Linked DNA regions of Homo sapiens: region 1 is linked to region 2. The links are contacts of gene promoters, found by promoter capture Hi-C in blood cells and fetal thymus (Javierre and others, 2016). All regions are on one chromosome and are shown on one strand. The core of a region is centred on a gene start or on the middle of the fragment in contact, and the rest is flanking DNA. Distances in the headings are between cores, read along the strand shown. Region 1 has its middle 29 kb from the start of OAT. Region 2 holds the start of IKZF5 (IKAROS family zinc finger 5).

Region 1 (2,804 bases), core at 114-2,613, 1.4 Mb after region 2:
TTTGGCTGGGTGTGGTGGCTCACGCCTGTAATCCCAGCACTTTGGGAGGCCGAGGTGGGCGGATCACCTGAGGTCAGGAGTTCGAGACCAGCCTGACCAATATGATGAAACCCCATCTCTACTAAAAATACAAAAATTGGCCGGGCCTGGTGGCATGCGCCTGTAATCCCAGCTACCTGGGAGGCTGAGACAGGAGAAACGCTTGAACCCAGGAGGTGGAGGCTGCAGTGAGCCAAGATCCTGCCATTGCACTCCAGCCTGGGCAACAAGAGTGAAACTCTGTCTCAAAAACACACACACACACACACACACACAGGTTTACACATTTCTTTGGGTCTTCATTTCCTTATGAAGGCTCCTGCATCCGGTAAAAATTATATTAAATAAATGTGTATGTTATTCTCTTGTTATATGAGTCCCAGGCAGGAACCTAGGACGGTGAGGAAAAGCTCTTTCTCCTCCTATGGCATCCACACACCCAGGGCCTGCCACTCCTGCCCAGCCCAGGACCGTCACTATCTCAGTGACCAGTGGACAGGGCTCAGCAGGGCCACACGGATCAAGGTGGGCCCCAGCCAGGCAGAGACCAGGCCCCGCATCCTCCCACCCCCTGCACAACTTCGGTCCCCCAATCACCAGGGCAGGTATGAGTAAGGCCATTGCACAGTGGCAAAAACTGAGGCCCGCAAGGGCCCAAGGACCACCACTCAGATCCCTCCGGGCACAGCCCAGCCAGGAGCTCCGGGCAGAGTCCCGGGAGGCCCTGCCCACAGGGTCAGAGCGCCCCTGCCCCCGGCCCAACGGATGCGCCTGTCCAGGATCACCACCTGTCAAGCTCGCTGCAGCGCGGGAGGTGGGGTGGACCCTTCCCTGCCCCGGAGCCCACACCTCTGCACGGTGAACCGAGGCGCTCCGACGGGTGCGCGGACAGCACCTGGCACTGAGGAGGTGAACGTGACTCCCACACACGCGGGACTGAACCAGCGCCCCAGAGTCCCCAGAACACGCATGGGCCCGCGGGGCCGCAGCCCACGCCCGGGACAGCCGCCCGCAGTCTACGCAGGGAGGGGCCGCGGGGCTCTGGTTTCTGCAAGTTCTGAATTGTCTCCAAGGAGCATATTCCAACGTCAGAATAATAAACTTTTACAGAACTGTATTGCTCTGCAGCGCGCGGGGGGACTCGGCCCAGCGAAGAGCGAGCGCCCTACAGGCCTCGGCGGAGGAGGGCACGGTCCCCAGCGCGGCTCCTGGCCCCGCCCACGGCCCCGCCCCAGCTCCCGAGCCCCGGCCTCGCGCACGCGCATCTCGCGGGCTCGCAGGACGGCCGGGAAGCAACGCTTTGCGGGCAGCGCCCCCTGCCGTCCCAACGCGCGTGGGGCCCTATGGCTGCGAGCAGTTCCGGCCAAAAGCCCCAGGACCCGGACTTGGGGTTATTGACTTGCGCGTGGGCGCTGAGTCTTGGAGGGGAGGGGACAACTCGCCACACCCCCGTCCTCTCCCTGGAGCTCGAAGCCCCTTTCTGCTGAAATGGGGCCTCCTTTTCTCGGGAAACTGACTTTGGGGGAAACTAAGTCTCAAGGGGATCTTAAAACCCAAGACGGGGGAATGGGAACCTCACAGGACGTGGGGGCGCTTTTCTGGCCATCTCTATATAAAACCTGCCGGGGGCCTCAGACCCTGGCTCCTCTGTCAGTTCCCAAGACCCGTCGCGCGCCCACCTGAGCCCGGTGCCCACTGGATGGGGGCTCAGGCTCACCTGGTCAGTCCTCACCCCCACCTCCAGAGACCAGGCAGTCATGCCCTTCTAATATGGCGGAGGTCCCAAAAGATTATACCATATTTTTACTGTGCCTTTTCTGTGTTTAGCTATGCAAATACTTAGCATTGTGTCGTAGCAGGCTGTGCCATCTAGGTTGTGTAAGTACACGCCATGATGTTCACATAACGAGAAAATCGCCAAAGGACGCATTTCTCAGAACATACACCTGTTGTGAAACCACCCGTGACTGTTCTGTCCTAATTCAACCCCCTCATTCGATAAAGGACAGAGAGGCATTGAGTTGCCAGAGGTCATCCTGGTTGTCAGAGGCAAAAGCAAAACCGAAGCTCTGAGCCTCGCAGCAACCACCCACGCCACCGCCTCCCGTCATCATCAGGAGGCCTCCCCAGGTTTCTGTCCCAGGGAGCGCAGCCGGTGGACAAGTCCCTTCCGCTCTCTGAGCCTCCAGTAACATGAAAACACTGGCAGGAGACCCTCCATGATTCCAGGATTCCTAGAACACTGGCAGGACACCCTCACCCGGTGATCACTCCCAGGTCACCCCACTGAAAGCCGGCAGCTTTCTGTATGGTCTGCATCCATGTTTTTCTATTTCTCCCAGGAGTAATTACTCCATTTGTTCACAGGTACACGGCTTGGCACTCAGGGGCCATAAATTAAAGAGATGTTGTGATAAAAAGGAAGGCAGGAGAGAGTAGGGGCTGGTGGATCCCACTTGCCCTTCACTGCCGGTCTCAGAGACTGGCCTAGGAGAAAGCCACCAAGATCAAAGGCCCCCAGACCCTGCATCCCCATGGATGTGCAAGCCTGAGCTGTCGGTGGTCCTCCCGAACCCTGCCTTGAGCCATGCTTGGCTATTCCACACAAGGCTTATTTGCAGCAATCATCTGCTGGGCTCTTAAGTATTGTGATGCAAATTATAAAAGCCATTTTAGTTCAGATATCTCATTAACAATTTGAAGGGCTAGGCTGATGTATAGAGAAAAAATCTCATTTGCAAGTTAATCAAAATAAAGGCTGGGGA
Region 2 (2,700 bases), core at 180-2,679:
ACCAAAGAATAACTGGTGTGACTACCGTTTTCTCACTGGTGGATTAGTTTTTGGCAAGATTTTTAATGTCTAAATTTAAGTTAAACTTCAGTTTAAAGAAATTAAGATTAACTTCATTTAGTCACAGCACACTTCCAAAACGGTCAAGCTTAGTACTGCTGAACAGCTGTAGTTGCATAAAAACAACGCATAGTCCTAAGTAGGGAAATGGGAAAGGGCTTTAAATACAAAAACAAAAAAAACATGCACACCCGATAAGGGCACATCTGAATCCCATCCTTCTTATCCTATCATAACACAAAACAGCTACGGTTTTCTGGGAAACATCCTGGACCGCTAGGGGAAAATAACACCAGACATTTCAATTCACTGTAACGAACTCTCATCAATAATAATAACCTTTAGCTGTTGTGACAACACGACATAAATCAAAATTAAATTGAATTTTTAAAATTGTTAGTTCCTACGTTTAAAAAAAAGTTGTTTTAAATACATTCTGTTCTTTCAAAACTGAATTTCCTCAGATCACACAATTTAAGACGCCTTTATGTCTTCTTCCGCTTGTCACACGTCTTTCGGGTTCTGACCAGCACATCAAGGGGACTCTAAGCAGGCCACGTGGTTAGTGTTTGCTAGAACTTGTTTAGCTTCAGATCCAGTCATCGAGCATGCTAGGCTTGGCTACTCGCGCTCCACACAGTTTATCCAAAGATCTAAACCCCGAATGAACCTGAATAGTTATTTGCTACAATGTCTTTCTCAAATCTCACATGTTCCTAAAATAAGGGTGCCCATGCAGTAGAGACGGATCCGGGCAGGATCATTAGATAAAATACGAAGGCTTTAAACGTCCTTCTCCCAACAATCAGCCTGGGACCGGCGTCGGGGCAGCAGCCTCACCAAGATTCGGAGCGACATCCTCGCCAGGATTCGAAACACCTAGGAGACCCGCGCCCGGCTGACTCCCAGCCCCTGGGACCCCGTGAAGACGCAAACCTCGGGACGCCTCCCGCAGAACCACCTGTCAGAGCCAAGCAACAGTCCCCGCCCCGGAGCCTCCGAGCTCCTGCTCGAAGGCAATGACAGCAGGAGACCCCGCTCCCTCGGGGTTCTCGCGGCCATAGGCGCCGCAGTCCACTGCCCTCCGGCTAAAGAGGTCCCGGGCCATCACCTGCCCGCCTACCGACCACGCCCGACCCTCCACTGAACTGAGTCTCCGTCCGGATCAGCCGGCCCGCCACGAACCCAGCTCCAGTCTCCGGCCGCTCCTTCTTATCCGCCCTGTCCTGCCGCGTCGCCGCCGTCCGAGCCGGCAGCCTGCTACTTACCTCCTGACAACTGCATGGAGTAAACCACACCGCCTTGTTAAATGCCGTCGCCGCCGCCGCCGTCTTCGTCACCGTCACAGTCGCCGCCGCCATCTTTGTTGTGTCTCCGACTCCCTTCCCGCCCCCCTGCCTTGCTCAAGTCTCGCGTGAGCAGGATGGAGGGCGAAAGCGAGGAGGGGCCTGTTTGTCTCTCTTGGGGTTCCGTAGGCAGCAGGGGGCAGGGATTAAGGGGGGGTGTGTGCGGGGCGGGTACTGAGTGGGCGGGGCCTTGCTCGGGTAACTCCCAGGGGCTGGCTAGAGACCCAGAGGCGCAGAGCGGAGAGGCCTGCGGCGAGGATGGAGGGCCTGGCAGTGCGGTTGCTGCGCGGCAGCAGGCTGGTGAGTGCGTTCGAGGCTGGCGTCCTGGGGGCCCAGGGCGACCTTGGCCCCTGGAATCGCAGCTGGCAGAGCCTTCTAACGGGCCTCGGGGCGCCGGCCTGAGCCCCGCTCCACGTCCTGGGTCCCCAGACTCTTTACCCGCGGGCAGTCTATGACCCCGACCCCCTTCAGGCCTCTGGTGGAGGCAGCTGGTGGCAAGGGGGTCGGGGCTGTCTAGAAGCTGCTTTGGCGGAGCAAGTACCTTGAGTGGAGTCGGAGGGTCGCGTCCGCAAGATGTCCTTTGCAGGCCGTTGCGTCCTGAGAGCCACCGAGTCTGGATCTCTGGATCTCTGGATGCATTTTGCACAGATGTCACCTCCCTGATGCCCTAACGCACCTTTCCCGAGTGATTACATTTCACACCCCCTCCCCCAAAAAAGATAGTTAAAATATAGGCCCAGTCTCATTCTGAGCAGGTGTCTCCCTGTCCTTCCTTCCGCGGCCCCGCTCAAAGGTAGTAAGGGACTTCGGAGTTGTTCGGGCTTCCCGGCCAGGGACAGAGTTCCCTCTGCCCCTTATCTCATGTCTGGAGCCTGGGTATCTTCCGTGGATAGACTCACCGCCGCCCAGGGGAGCCGGAGCCGGTGCCGGTCCCTCTTCCATGAACTTAAGCTGAAACCAGCCTCTTGTTGTGCTTAATTCTTATCTGTGCACCCACACAAACTGTTAACAGCCCCTGTGTTAACATCCTATGCTCTTCACCCCTTGGACCTATTATATAGCATGCTTTTCAGAACATACACATTTGGATACACTTGTATTTGTCAGTACACTTCACTGGGAATTTTCCCACTGCTTACGTGTGCTTTTAATGTTTCCTTTGCATTTGCTTTAATGAGTTAGGCTTTCCAACTGCTGCTTCAGTCTTATGCCCAGAGGCAGAACTCTGACCCTTTTTCTTATTAGAGATAATTAATGTTATTTGACTGTTTTACAGGCCTGAAGTGCAATAAAA

What was found. Contacts are between HindIII fragments. The CHiCAGO score rates a contact against its expected background, and 5 or more counts as called.
Region 1: a contact is called between a fragment that was not itself captured here and the fragment with the promoter of IKZF5 in region 2, in 3 of 17 cell types (fetal thymus, activated CD4 T cells and naive CD4 T cells). The highest score is 8.2, in fetal thymus.

What each region holds. Positions count from the first base shown.
Region 1 is chr10:124,388,056-124,390,859 of GRCh38, forward strand. No RefSeq gene overlaps it. Among named protein-coding and RNA genes, the nearest start is that of OAT, 29 kb to the right of the region's middle. RefSeq lists a silencer at 1,162-1,451. The HindIII fragment of the contact is 3,581 bases long and covers 1-2,804 here.
Region 2 is chr10:123,007,366-123,010,065 of GRCh38, forward strand. IKZF5 (IKAROS family zinc finger 5) reads right to left here and starts at 1,430. Exons shown (of 5, transcript NM_001372123.1): 1 at 1,329-1,430. It overlaps ACADSB (acyl-CoA dehydrogenase short/branched chain), which reads left to right and starts at 1,641. Exons shown (of 11, transcript NM_001609.4): 1 at 1,641-1,706. The coding sequence starts at 1,665. RefSeq lists enhancers at 707-936, 1,217-1,546. The HindIII fragment of the contact is 4,856 bases long and covers 147-2,700 here.